5 separate regions of the Homo sapiens genome follow, and all the other regions are linked to region 1. Evidence: promoter capture Hi-C in 16 types of primary human blood cells and fetal thymus (Javierre and others, 2016). All regions are on one chromosome and are shown on one strand. Each heading gives the region's core, a stretch centred on a gene start or on the middle of the fragment in contact. The rest is flanking DNA. Distances are from core to core; before and after follow the strand shown.

Region 1 (2,704 bases), core at 166-2,665:
CATCATCAGCATCGTGGGAACTTGTTAGAAACACAAATCCTTGGGCCTCACCACTGAACTAATGACTTAGAACAGGGGTTGGACTGGGGAATTCTGTGTTTTAACAAGTCCTCCAGGTGATTCTGACGCATGCCAGTTTGAGAATCACTTTTTTAAACCAATGTTTAAGTCCAATCTAACCTACTTAACTATTAACAGTCTACCTGGCTATCTACCTGTGGTAGTGTAGTATGTAACAGCCCACAGCACACATGCTCAATTCCAAGCCTATCTGCTCTCCGCAATCAGTATATTCCTCCTGCAATTTATCATGGTATGAAAGGCCCAGTGATACACATATTTGGTCATTTTCAAATAGTGCCTGCCAGCATAGTGGCTCACACCAGTCATCCCAGCACTTTGGTAGGGTGAGGCGAGATGATCATTTGAGCTCAGGAGTTTGAGAACAGCCCGGACAACATGGCGAAACCCCATTTCTACAAAAAAAAAAAAAAAATTAGCCAGCGGTAGTGGCGTGCTACTTGGGAGGCTGAGGTGGGAGGATCCCCTGACCCCTGGAAAGTGGAGACTGCAGTGAGCCATGACTGCACCACTGCACTCCAGTCTGGGCGACAGAGACAGACCCTGTCTGAAAAAAAAGTGCCCTTCACAGAAGCTTCCTCAGGGTATTAGCATGAGCATGTGAAAGTACAGTATGTTTATCAAACACATAAAATAAGCAGTTATAAATAACGTCAGAATAACACAAGGAGGCCAATTATCAAAATGAAAGGCTAGTTTTGCATGCTGTGCTTTGCGGAGAGAAGGAAGAGGGAGTTTTCATGTTATTACACTTTTGATAGCAGAATCCTATATTTTGGTGCAGAGGTGGCAAAATAAGGCGGGGGGTGCTGGTGCGCAGAAGCTGACAAGGTTAGAATGTGCAGCGTTTTTACGACGGACTGGCTTTACTCATTTCCTGCCTCACTTCTCTCCTATCTGTATAGGTTTTTCTTTTCGTCCTCCTCTACCAGTACGCTCCCGCCTGCCGCGCTCCGCCCTTGTGCGGCGCACGATCGGAGTCAGTGATTAAGCCGGCTCCAAGACAAAGCGGAGGCCGAGCCCAGGAAGCAAGCGCGCTCTCCGCCCCGCCTGGAGGGAGGGCCCAACCACAGCACAGCCGCGCTCACTCCTCACCCGGACGTGACCTAGTTCTCACAGAGGCCCGGCCTCTTCCGCCACAACTCCGGCCCGCGGTCCCGCCCCGTTCCGTGAATGGTCGGCCGGCCTCAGGTCAAAAAAGCGTTTAGGTGTCTGCGACGGAGCCTCCGGAGAAAGGCAAGCACGTCGCAGCCAATGAGGTGATAGAAACGCAAAGCAGCGACCAATGACTAGCTGAGTTGGGCTGGGCCGGCCGACGAATCACGAGGCTTCGCACCCGGATATGGTTATGGGCTCGGAAATCTAGTTCGGGAAAAGTGTGAGGGGCTCTTCACGTGGGGAAGGAACAGCAGGCGCGGAGGAGGGGGCAAGCGTGTGTGAGATTCAGTGGTCCATGCGTGCGTTTGTCGTGTAAGGGTCATTCCTGGGGTTTGGAGTGGGGGAACAAATCAATGTGGCTGTTTTTCCGTGGAAAGAATTCCCACTGCAGTGTCCCGGAGCCTGCGTGTGGTGGGCAAGCTCCTCAAATGGTATCTCACAGGGAATAGGGGAGTCTTGAAAACGCAGCTTCGGCAGTAGGAACATGAACCTCTTACCTAAAAGTTCCAGGGAGTTTGGCTCCGTTGACTATTGGGAGAAGTTCTTCCAGCAGCGAGGAAAGAAAGCTTTCGAGTGGTATGGAACCTACCTGGAACTGTGCGGGGTGCTACATAAATATATCAAGCCCAGGGAAAAGGTGAGGAGCGCGGGTTGGTAGCCCTTCGTACGTGCTCCGGAAGGTGGGAACTGGTAACAGGAATCTTGCACTTGGTGGACAGTGACAGGCGGGAGGACCCTAGTTGGACGCATATTTCAGCATTTCCTGCATTGTTCCTGCTAAAAGACAAACTAGAATATTCTTTCAGGCCGGGCGCAGTGGCTCACACCTGTAATCCGAACACTTTGGGAGACCGAGGTGGGAGGATCGCTTGAGCCCTGGAGTTAAAGACCAGCCTGGGGAACATGAGACCTCGTCTCTACAAAAAATGAAAAAATTAGCCGGGCGTGGTGGCGCGCATCTGTATTTCCAGCTACTCGGGAGGCTTAGGCGGGAGGATCGCTTGAGCCCAGGAGGTCGAGGCTGCAGTGAGCCATGATCACGCCACTGCACTCCAGCCTGGGTGACAGAGTGAGACCCTGTCTAAAAAAAAAAACATTTCTTTAAAGGTTTTCAGATAATAGACCTCCCACCCCAGCTCATTCTTGGATTAATAACCCTACTTGAAGAGTGACTTCCCATCTTGAAAGTATGTTCTTCTGTCACTGTGCATTCCTGTGCAACCTGCAGCAGGTGTGACTTTGTGTATGAATTTGTTTTTCAAATAGTCGTTGAGTGCGCCCCAAGTTTCAGGCACTGCTCAGTCCTTAAACTATAAGAGCATTAAGACGTAAACCCTGCACATGTTCCAGAAGTGAAACGTGATAAGTACAACAATGGGTTTGGTATAGGTGAGATTGTACTGGAGGTAGGGAAGGAGGAAGGTAGAAAACTTAACATTTGTGGGGAAGCTTTATGTGCCAAGCC
Region 2 (2,700 bases), core at 29-2,528, 3.2 Mb after region 1:
TTTCTTTAAATGAAGAAAAACTATGAGGTTTGTGTGTTCCAGTATTAATCTGGGTATCTTGTGACAAGTCTTTTAAGGTAGGTCTTGGGTACTATGTGCCCCTAGGAGATAACTTCACAGTCTTGCAGGTGGATAGCTCAGTGTTAGTCCTCTTGAAAGTAGAGATCGTTCTCAGTTTAGGCACTTAGAAATATACATTTGAGGGCACTTGATTTTTGTTTTGTTTGAGATAAAATTCAAGTTTTTAACCATTTTAAAGTGTACAATTCAGGTATTTGTTTTTTGTTTAAATATATTCACAGTGTAGTGCAGCCATCACCACTGTCTAGTTTCAGGACATTTTCATCACTCCAGAAAGAAACCATGTAGTGTGTTTTAAACAATTGCTTCCCATTCCTCCCTCAGCCCCTGACAACTACTCATCTTGTACTTTCTGTGAATTTGCCTATTGTAGGCATTTCATATAAATGGAGTCACGCTGTATGTGGCCTTTTGTTTTTTGGCTCCTTCAACTTAGCACTAACATTTTCAAGTTCATCCATGGTGTAGCGTGTATCAGTACACATGCTCTTTATGGCTAAATAATATTCTATTATATGCATGTGGCACATTGTGTTTATCCTTTCATCCGTTTATGGACATTTATTTCCACTTCTTTGTTTGAGACGGAGTCTCGCTCTGTCGCCCAGGCTGGAGTGCAATGGCGCAATCTCGGCTCACTGCAATCTCCGTCTCCCGGGTTCAAAGGATTCTCCTGCCTTAGCCTCCTGAGAAGCTGGGATTACAGGCGCGCGCCACCATGCCCGGCTAATTTTTGTATTTTTAGTAGCGACGGGGTTTCACCACGTTGGCCAGGCTGGTCTCGAACTCCTGATCTCAAGTGATCCGCCCGCCCGCCTCGGCCTCTGAAAGTGCTGGGATTACAGGTGTGAGCCATGGCGCCTGGCCTTATTTCCACTTCGTGACTAGCATAAATAATGCTGCTGCGAGTACTGTATCCAAGTTTTTTGTGTGGATGTGTTTTCAGTTCTCTGGGGTATATACCTAGGAGTGGAATTACTGGTTCATATGGTAACTTTCTGAGAAACTGTTAGACTGTTTCCAGAGTGGTTGCATCATATTCCTGTAAGAAATGTTTGAAGCTTCTGAAAGTTTCTCCACATCATTATCAACATTTGTTATTTTCTGGGGTGTTTTATTTTTCTTTTTCGGTTTATGATACCATCCTACTGGGTGTGAAGTGGCATCTTGGGAATTTGATATGCGTTTACCCAATGATGAAGATGTTGAGCATCTTTAATGTTCTTGGTGTCCATTTCTGTGTCTTTGGAGAAATGTGTGTTGAATTCCTTTGCCCATTTTTGAGGCACATTGGTGTTAATGCCTCCTAGTGAAAAATTAGGAAATAGGAAGATAAAGCTTGAATGCCTTATGGGTAGGGATAAAAGAGAAATAAAATTTTTATATACGTAAAACAAACACATGCCAAGAAGGCAAGGAAAATTACATGATAAATTAGATAGGAAACTAGGACATCTTAAAGTATTTGTGCAGAAAAAGCATCAAAGGAATCACCTTTGTTGGTTTCAAGTCTGCCAATAACAGAACTGAGGAACTGTCTCAGTTTTAAGTTTTTTCAGTGGATACTTCATAATAAAAAGAGTACTTTAGAGTCAAAACTGGCAATAAAGAGGGCTTGGGAATTCAGCCATTGGGGGAATCCCTTGCCTAATTCGAAGTACCTTTCTCATTCTGCTAGATAAAGTATTCCTATTTCAGTCAAAAAGCAAAACCTCTTGCTTAGACTTAATATATTTCATTTTACATTTCAATATTTTTATTATGAATTAGGAGTTGTAGAATCAGCGTTTTTTTGAAACCATTACAATAAAAATATTACTTTGAACTGAAACATTTTGGTTCTATGCTCAAAAGATGAGTTTGCAAGATTTTTTGTCATAGTAATATGAGCTGTTCTTGGAAGGGTCGAGAGTGTGGACAAGAGGGTTGGGCAGAGTTGATTTTTTTTTTTTTTTGGGAGACCGAGTTTTGCTCTTGTTGCCCGGGCTGGAGTGCAATGGCGCGATCTCGGGTCACTGCAACCTTTGCCTCCCGGGTTCAAGCGATTCTTCTGCCTCAGCTTCCCGAGTAGCTGGGATTACAGGCACGTGCCACCACACCCGGCAAATTTTTGAATTTTAAGTAGAGACGGGCTTTCGCCGTGTTGGTCATGTTGGTCTCGAACCCCTAACCTCAAGTGATCCACCCGCTTTGGCCTCCCAAAGTACTGGGATTACAGGTGTGAGCCACTGCACCTGGCCAGAGTTGAACTTTTTATACCATGTCATCTGTTATAGATAGGCAAAACTAGGGCATCTGAGTTAAATGAGATAACAAAAGACTTGTAGTAAAAGAAAAGAATTAGTTCTGTTATTGCATTTTATAAGACTATTAAGAAACAGGCTTTCAAACTCTGTTGTGCGTCTGATATTCTGAGTTATAAAGCACTAAAAGACTTTTTTAAATTGAGCTTTTGATATCAAGCTGTGACACAAGATTTTTTTGGTCAAGTTGGTAGTGTCAAGCCAGAGTGTAAAGTTATTGTAAGAAAAGTGAAACAGCTGTTTGGAAAGATCTTGTGTATTTGCAGTATGTCAGAGGGTAATTGGGGGAAAAAAAACTTAGGCTCAATAATTTTCT
Region 3 (2,700 bases), core at 18-2,517, 4.4 Mb after region 1:
ATACGATAGGTACTTACATTATTATAAAAAGCATGTCTTTATAAGACATCCATGCTTATGTTTACAGCATCATCTACCATACTTCAAATAAATTTTGACCAACTCCACCCCTCTGCATCCGAGGAAGCTTAGTCCTCTCCATTTGCAAATTTCATTCATCTCAACAAGGACTCCTGATTGACTGAGTGTTCAATTCATCAGAGAGGCAAAAATTTTAAGACTCAACCTCTCTGCCAACTTTGTTATCCAAAACCATTTATTTGACCTTCCACCTCTTCCCTCGTCATTCGTTAAACTCCCTTCACTTCCTCCTCAGCAACACTTACCTACCTCTTTATTATCCCCACCCTGCCTCGCTACTCCAACATTCCTTCACCCCACCAACCAGGAGCTCGAATGCCTGCAAACGCTCGATTCCCTCTGCAGACACCACCACAGCACCAGTATCCCAAGCTCTCCAACAAGCCACCCCCACACCAGACCCCCCGCCCCCAAGCCTAAGCGGCAGAAACTCATAATTTAGGGACAAGGAGGGAGTGCTCTTCAAACCCACCATACGAAGTCGTTGCTTTTGTCCTCGTAGGAGTTGATGAGCCCGTTGCAGAGGGGGGCGAGGAGAGGTCGCTTCCTGCTGCCGCTGCCTAGGCTGGAGCTGCTGCCTCCTACGCCGGCGCTGGGCCTGGCCGCGCAGCTGTGCCGGGACAGGCCCGTGGACACCGCCCCGCCGCCGCTACCCGATACGGCGGGCGCCACCAACACAGGCCGCACCGGGCCCCCGAGGCCGCCCGAGCCGGCGGCCTGGGCCACCCCGCCGGACACCAGCGCTGCCGCCGAAACCGCCACGGAAGGCGGCGACGGGGAAGAGGATAAAGACGAGGAGGCGGAAGTCACCGAGGAGGCCGCCGAGGACCCGGGGCTTGTCCCAGCGGAGCCCGACCCGGCCTGGCGGCTACCAGACATCGTGACTCCCTCCCCTCCAGCCGGGCGCTCGGAGGAGAGGGACCGCGACCTCGACCCTCCGCCGCCTCCCCTCCCCTCAGCCTCAGTGCATCCTGAGGACGCCCGCCGAGCCGGAGGTGGGGCTGAGGAACAATAAAGTTGCGTTTTTTTTTAAGGCAGCCACACAACAGCGTCCCACGGGAGGGGGCGGAGGAAACTAAAAAAGCGGAGTAGAAGGCACTACCGCTGTCGAGGCCGCCGCCGCCACCGCGGTCCCTGTAGCAGCCAACCCCGGCGCGCCGTGGCCGGCCGTGCGCGCGCGCGCGAGCGGCGGAAGAGGCGGGCGTGGCGGGGGATACAACTGGGGACGCAGCGGGGCTGCGCTCAGACGCTCAGGGCGCGCCCTCGGGGTCGGGGCTCCCTGGCGAAGGGAGTCTGTCTGTCCCAAGCCGCTTTCGTTCCAGAAAACGTGCCAGAGGGCAGGCCGTCTTAATACAGTGAAAGAATTGAGGAGACTGGAATGAATGGTATAGGTGGTGGGGTGGTTTGAAAGACGGGAACGTAGCGGGCGGAAACTCTCGAAAAGCGACTGCGCAGGCGCGCGCCGGGCGCGGACGCTCACGGGTCACCCAGGGTATCCGCCCCAAGCGGAGAATATCGGCGCAAGCGCGGAGTAGCCGTGTCACGCATGCGTGCGAACGCACCACATTCCGGAACGGGAAGAAGGAGCTGTCTCTCTCTTCTGAGGGGTAGGCAGGTGCTTCCGAATCGCGGAATGTAGGTGCTCATAAGCTGGAGACCCACGGAAAGAACCTAGAAGCTCCGAGCGGTTGCAGACAGCACTGCATTGAGCCAACGACTCCTGCTCTACTGATGGTGATTCCACAGCTTTGTGAGGAATAAGTTAAGATGAAGTCAGTGAAGTTTTCTGCGAATTGCAAACATTGTAGCAAGTGTTACCAATTTTATTAGTTCGACCACGACTTCACTCCTATATTTTGAAAAGCTGTTTGCCAAATTGAACATAACAATAATGGGAAAACAGATTTTGCTCAATCAGACCCAGCTCAGTCGGAACCTAGGTTTATTGTGGATCTGATATAATTCTAGCACAAAACAAGGAAACCTAGCATTTAATACCACCAGAAAATATACAATTTCTGGTAGGCTTTTTTAGAATATTGAAAATTGATTATAGGCGGGCGCGGTGGCTCATGCCTGTCATCGCAGCACCTTGGGAGGCCTAGGGGGTCGGATCACCTGAGCCTGGAGGTGAGGATCAGGCTGAACCTGAGGTTAGAGACCAGCCTGGGCAAGATAGCGAAACCCCGTCTCTACAAAAAGTACAAAAAATTAGCTGGGCATGGTGGCAGCAGGCCTGTAGTCCCAGCTACTCGGGAGGCTGACATGGGAGGATTGCTTGAGCTGGGGAGGTTGAGGCTGTAGGGAGCGGAGATCCCTACACTCCAGCCTGTGAGACAGAGACCCTGTCTCAAAAAAAAAAATTTTTTTCATTTGCCGCATTCTAAGGGGTGGGAGTTAGAAACAACTGTGTGATTTTATCCTTTTCAATTCTATCATTCTATGATTCTTATATATTTATTTGGGAATAAAGTGTGAAAATACTCATGACTTAGTAAACTACGTGCGTATTCAAGGAGGTAAAGGAAGGCAAAGGTTTTTAAAATTTAAAAAAAAATGAGAATTACATAATTGTTTTTAAACCGTTATCCTTGGCTACGAAGATCAATAACAAGGTGA
Region 4 (2,700 bases), core at 41-2,540, 3.5 Mb before region 1:
GTAGGTTCCAAGACATTTCTGTAGTTCTTTCAAAGTTTATCAAGGGATGGTATCTGCCAGAACAGTTTCAGTATAGATGTGACTCACCTATTTTTGAAAAAAATGTTTGCTACAGTGTAAAGAAAGGAGGATTGTGGACATTTTAAAGTTCTGAAGAATTGGTTAACTCCTATTTGGTAGAAATGAATCTTGAGACTGTAAGCTTAACTCCCATCCCTCCCTTTAGCAATTTTGGACTTTTGAATAAATATAGTTACAAATTGCCTTTTGGAATTTACTGTGTTGACAAGTAATTGAGCTTCTGTACATGTTAAGTATAAGATATGGAGAAGGATGCTGGTGTTTGTGTTTATGTGTGTGTGTGTGTGTATGTTTTTTTTTTTTTTAAATGACATGCACATTTGAGTGGTAGACTGTTTATATTTTGATTTTTCTTCCAGGGCAGAAATTGGTACCTATATACACACACCTTGCTTTGCTTATAGACTGATTTTGAATCCAGTTTCAGAGGTTCAGCATTCATATGGGTCCAGCTGAATGGTGATATTCCCTTCAACACTCATGTGTTCTGACTGTGTTTGCTTTTCTAAGGGCTAACTTACAGTCTGCCTGACACACAGTGCCTGGTTCTTTAGCATTATGGAGCCTGTTCCTTGTATATGGTTTCCTTCTAAGTGACAGGGCTGAGCTAACTGGAATTTACCAAGATACCTTTGGACGTACTACATTTTCACTCATAGAGTAGTTGGTAGCATTTTTTTCTTCTTCTTTTTTATTCTCTTTTCTCTTCTTTTAAAATTAATAGGAGCAGAGCAGAAAATTTATCCCAATTAGGTAGAAGTTAAATTCTGTTTAGAATTTATAAAATGTTAGGAGTTCAACTGTGCCAGGTATGGGTGGCTCACACTGTAATGCCAAGACTTTGGGAGGCTGAGGTGGGAGGATTGCTTGAAGCCAGGAGTTTGAGACTAGCCTGGACAGTGTAGCAAGACCGGGTCTCTGCAAAAAAACAAACAAACAAACAAAAAAAAACATTAAAAAATTAGCCGGGCATGGTGGCACATACTTGTAGTCCCAGCAATTCTGGAGGCTGAGGCAGGGGGATTGCTTGAGCTTCCTAGACTTGAGCCTAGAAATTCAAGGCTGCAGTGAGCTATGATTGAGCCACTATATTCCAGCAGCCTAGGTGACGAGCACGACCCTGTCTCAAAAAAAAAAATAAATAAATAAATAAAGGAGGGGGGTGCGGTTCAACTGTTCTGGGTTTTATTTGATATTTTTTCAGAATAGAGTTTCTGTGCCATCTGGGTATTTGAAATCTGACTGTTTAAGGTGATTGTTGCTAGTTCAAGGTTATAGCAGTACTGCATTGAGGCCGAGGTCATACGGGTTATCTCCACATGAACCTTTTGCCCTTCTTCTGTGGCTGCCTATCTGTACATGGCCATAGTGTGTGTGTTTGGGTACACGTGCATGCACATGCGTGGGCCTTTGTGTGCACATGCTCATCCCCCAGGCTGAGTATGGGAGAGGGTCTGGATAGATCACTGCAGGTATTCTTACAGCTCAGAAGCCCATTCTGCTGGATAATCTGCTACTCCCTTCATCTCATTTGACCCTTTGTTTTGTTTTTCATTATAGGTACAGCCTTTCCTTCATACCATTTGCAAGGTAAGACTGTGTATTTGGAAATAATGATTTCTGTCATTTTAATTCAGAGTCTGCTTTCAGAGAGTATAGCCTATTTTATTTATCTTTACTGAAGTCTTTTGAGTCAAGTAGACAAATACTATACATCTCATTTATAGATAAGTAAGTTAAAGGTCACCCCACCACCCACTCTAATTATACAACTAATGATGGATATTTACCCAGGTACACTGATTTCCAATGCTGTGAACATTCTACTCTTATATATGGTGCATATATGCACATTATTACTCTTTTAACCCGTAGCTTTGAGTAGGGTTTTTTTTTTTTTTTTTTTTATAAAGGTGAATGTCATTTCATATCACTGAGTAAGATATGGAGGGATCTCAATTCGTGCTTCTTGCAGTATCCCACTGCTGGGAAGGTTTCACAAGAGTTTATAAAGGGAGAGTAAGCAGTACCAGGGCTTCCTAATTAGCAGTGTGACCTCGAGCAGCTCTCTTGACCCCTCTGGCCTCAAAGCATCGATAAGTAGACTGAGTTGGTCTAGATCATCTCCAGAGGCCTCTTTTAGCTCTGAAATTCTAATACTCCATACCTCTTTAAGCACTTTCAGTGACGGACCTCTCAAAATTAGCCGCATGATCTTTGCCTCTGACTTTGTTCTAATGCAACTATTTAACTTCTGTTCTTTTTTTTTTTTTTTTATCATTACCTGTTAATTAAAAACAAGCTTTTTAAAAAAACTGTACTGGGCCAGGTGCAGTGGCTCACGCCTGTAATCCCAGCACTTTGGGAGGCCGAGGCGGGTGGATCCTGCTGTCAGGAGATCGAGACCATCCTGGCTAACACAGTGAAACCCCGTCTCTACTGAAAATACAAAATATTAGCTGGGCGTGGTGGCAGGCGCCTGTAGTCGAAGCTACTTGGGAGGCTGAGGCAGGAGAATGGCGTGAACCCAGGAGGCGGAGCTTGCAGTGAGTCGAGATGGCGCCACTGCACTCCAGCCTGGGCGACAGAGCGAGACTCTGTCTCAAAAAAAAAAAAAAA
Region 5 (2,700 bases), core at 21-2,520, 3.8 Mb before region 1:
AAATTATTTAAGAAAAGTTAGCATGCAATTTTTTAATTCTTTTTAGTGTCTCAAGTAAAATACGAATACATTTTGTTTATAAAAACTCAATAAAAATGAAGCAAAAATCCCTTTGATCCCTCCCATTCAATTTCACTCCGCCACCCTTAGAAATAATATTTTCTGTTTTCTGAATATTCTTCCAGACCTTTTTGTTTGCATTCTTACAAGTACATATGTACATGTACAAATGCTGGGGTGTGTGTGTGTTTGTGTGTGTATGAGAGAGACACCTGAGTGCATGGTGTCATATTGTAAACATTGTTTTCACTTCTCCACATTTTGGAGATCTTTCCATGGCAGTAAAAATAGATTGATTCTGTCTTTTAAATTATTACATAGTAGGTAACATTATGAAGTACCATAGGGTACTCAACCTTTCTTCTTTAAGTAGACGTTCGCCCTTACAGCATTTTAATGAACATCATTCTACAAGCTTCTGTGCATTTGTTGTAGGATAAGTACCTAGAGTGGTGATTAATCATTTTAAAATTGAACATAGCTGGAGTCTGGTTTTTAAAACTATTTACCAAAAAAAGTGTGCAGTATTTCTTTTAGAATTTATTTGCGGAGAAAGAACTTAATTTTAGCTTAATAAAACAAACGTTAACATTGTTTTGCATGGATACATTTATAATTTGGTCCTTTATCTCAGTTGGACAGTTTAAGTACTTGTATATAGTTCTATATTTTAGTGTTTTCTTTTGGTTCAGTTACTTCAGCTATATCTACAAACGAGTTAATTAAAATATAACAAAACCATATACCTGCTTTTCCCCCTCCTACTCCAACTCCCTAATGGAAATGGAATTTGTGTATTGGGTCTAGGGGAATTGAAGGGTTCACTGACTATATTAGAAAGCCTGAATTACAGTTTTTCAAATGTGTATGTATACATACAGGGAGTTCTTTATCTTAAATAATATTTTAGATATGATAATATATACTCTTAAAATAGGACATTTTTGGAATGACTTCCTTTAAAAGTGGTTTTCTAAGTACTTGAAAATACTTTTTGAAAGTATCGAAACTTGAAAATGTTTGCAAAGAACTAATTTATTGGCCTTTACCCTTAGTAGACCTTTACACTGTTATTCAGCTCTTCTATACTACAGTGCTAATCCTGGCTTTGCATTCAGGAAGCAGCAAAATCCACATTGGTAATGTTTGAATTAGTGATGGTTTTTTTTAAAAAATGACTTTCCCTCCCAGTTTTATTGGGGTATAATTGACAATTAAAAATTGTTATATTTAAGGTGTAGGACTTGATAACTTCATATACAATCAAGTTAATTAACATATCCATCATGTCACATAATTACCATCTTTTTTTGTGTGTGGCGATAAAATGACTTTATCATTATTATTAATTTTATTTTTATTATTAGATAAAATGACTTTTTAAAGTACAGTACTCTTGGCCGGGCGCGGTGGCTTACGCCTGGAATCCCAGCACTTTGGGAGGCCAAGGTGGGTGATCACTTGAGGTCAGGAGTTTGAGACCGGCCTGGCCAACATGGTGAAACCCTGGTCTTTACTAAAAATACAAAAATTAGCCGGGAGTGGTGGCGTACGCCTGTAGTCTCAGCTCCTTGGGAGGCTGAGGCAGGAGAATAGCTTGAACTTGGGAAGTGGAGGTTGCAGTGAGCCAAGATTGTGCCACTGCACTCCAGCCTGGGCGACAGAGGGAAACTCTGCGTCATAAATAAATAAATAAATAAATAAAGTATGGTACACTTATAAAGCCTTCCTTTTAAAAGTCAAATTCCAAGTTAGGATTTTCCTAAGGAAATAGATTCCTTTTTTAAAAGACTTCAATATTTAAACATTACGATTGTCTATCTACAGGGTTGTAGATTTAAGTATTTTTCTGATACATTTTCATTATTTGTATTTCTACAGATTTTTTAGCAGTGAATTACTGCTAAATAGTAAAATTGGGATAGAACAAATAGATAAATTTTTCTTGTAGCCTTTACATTTCCAGTTATTTCACCATAGCATGTGCCCTTTCAATGTTAATATTCAAGCTTTGTAATTGATTTTACTTAAACTGATTAATTATCTCCTTTCTTCCCATCAAAGAAAATTATACTTCAGAAAACTTCCTATTATGTTGTGGGAATGAAGATGAATAATTTCCCAGATGTTATTTATGATTAAAAGATATGTTTACTTAGAGCTCCCAAATCCACAAGATTCACCTGGGCCAACAGAGTGTTGTTTTAGACTAGCATGGATTTAGAGGATAGGCCAGGGATTTTAATCTTTGTGAGCCCTATCTAAATTTCAATGTAGGATTCTTTTTTTTGGTGGGAGGCGGGGGGCAGGGTGAGGCAGGGTTTTGCTCTGTCTCCCAGGCTGGTGTGCAGTGGCACCCTCATGGCTCACTGCAGCCTCCACGTCCTGGGCTCAAGGCCATCCTCCCACCTCAGCCTCCTGGAATTTTTTTTTTTTTTAAAGAATAATTATCAAAGTCAGAGATACCTGTAGGTTTAAATGTTTAAATGTAATAGTTTCTCAAATTACTGTATACTAGGTGTAGAGTAGTGCTTTTGGAAATCAGTGATTTATTAGCCACACAGATTTTATTATCCCATATATATACGGTTTTGTAAAGATAAACATTGTTAATAAAATAAACTTATTTCAATACATTGC

What was found. The method cuts DNA at HindIII sites, captures the fragments that hold promoters and counts their contacts. A CHiCAGO score of 5 or more calls a contact.
Region 2: a fragment that was not itself captured here is called in contact with the fragment with the promoter of METTL13 in region 1 in 7 of 17 cell types (naive CD4 T cells, fetal thymus, naive B cells and 4 more); the score reaches 9.9 in naive CD4 T cells.
Region 3: the fragment with the promoter of COP1 here is called in contact with the fragment with the promoter of METTL13 in region 1 in 7 of 17 cell types (naive B cells, non-activated CD4 T cells, total CD4 T cells and 4 more); the score reaches 13.2 in naive B cells.
Region 4: a fragment that was not itself captured here is called in contact with the fragment with the promoter of METTL13 in region 1 in 1 of 17 cell types (neutrophils); the score reaches 7.4 in neutrophils.
Region 5: a fragment that was not itself captured here is called in contact with the fragment with the promoter of METTL13 in region 1 in 1 of 17 cell types (monocytes); the score reaches 5.6 in monocytes.

The regions. Positions count from the first base shown.
Region 1 is chr1:171,780,245-171,782,948 of GRCh38, forward strand. METTL13 (methyltransferase 13, eEF1A N-terminus and K55) reads left to right here and starts at 1,416. Exons shown (of 8, transcript NM_015935.5): 1 at 1,416-1,876. The coding sequence starts at 1,724. RefSeq lists enhancers at 1,105-1,399, 1,229-1,762. The HindIII fragment of the contact is 1,150 bases long and covers 654-1,803 here.
Region 2 is chr1:175,001,098-175,003,797 of GRCh38, forward strand. The region is part of intron 1 of CACYBP (calcyclin binding protein); the gene reads left to right. Among named protein-coding and RNA genes, the nearest start is that of CACYBP, 2.5 kb to the left of the region's middle. The HindIII fragment of the contact is 277 bases long and covers 1,141-1,417 here.
Region 3 is chr1:176,206,019-176,208,718 of GRCh38, forward strand. COP1 (COP1 E3 ubiquitin ligase) reads right to left here and starts at 1,268. Exons shown (of 20, transcript NM_022457.7): 1 at 554-1,268. The coding sequence starts at 960. It overlaps COP1-DT (COP1 divergent transcript), which reads left to right and starts at 1,647. Exons shown (of 5, transcript NR_185981.1): 1 at 1,647-1,853. RefSeq lists silencers at 706-1,065, 1,096-1,305 and an enhancer at 1,806-1,875. The HindIII fragment of the contact is 7,879 bases long and covers 126-2,700 here.
Region 4 is chr1:168,237,490-168,240,189 of GRCh38, forward strand. SFT2D2 (SFT2 domain containing 2) reads left to right here. Exons shown (of 8, transcript NM_199344.3): 7 at 1,642-1,671. Among named protein-coding and RNA genes, the nearest start is that of SFT2D2, 13 kb to the left of the region's middle. The HindIII fragment of the contact is 2,181 bases long and covers 201-2,381 here.
Region 5 is chr1:167,938,023-167,940,722 of GRCh38, forward strand. All of the region lies in intron 1 of DCAF6 (DDB1 and CUL4 associated factor 6), which reads left to right. Among named protein-coding and RNA genes, the nearest start is that of MPC2, 2.3 kb to the left of the region's middle. The HindIII fragment of the contact is 1,594 bases long and covers 474-2,067 here.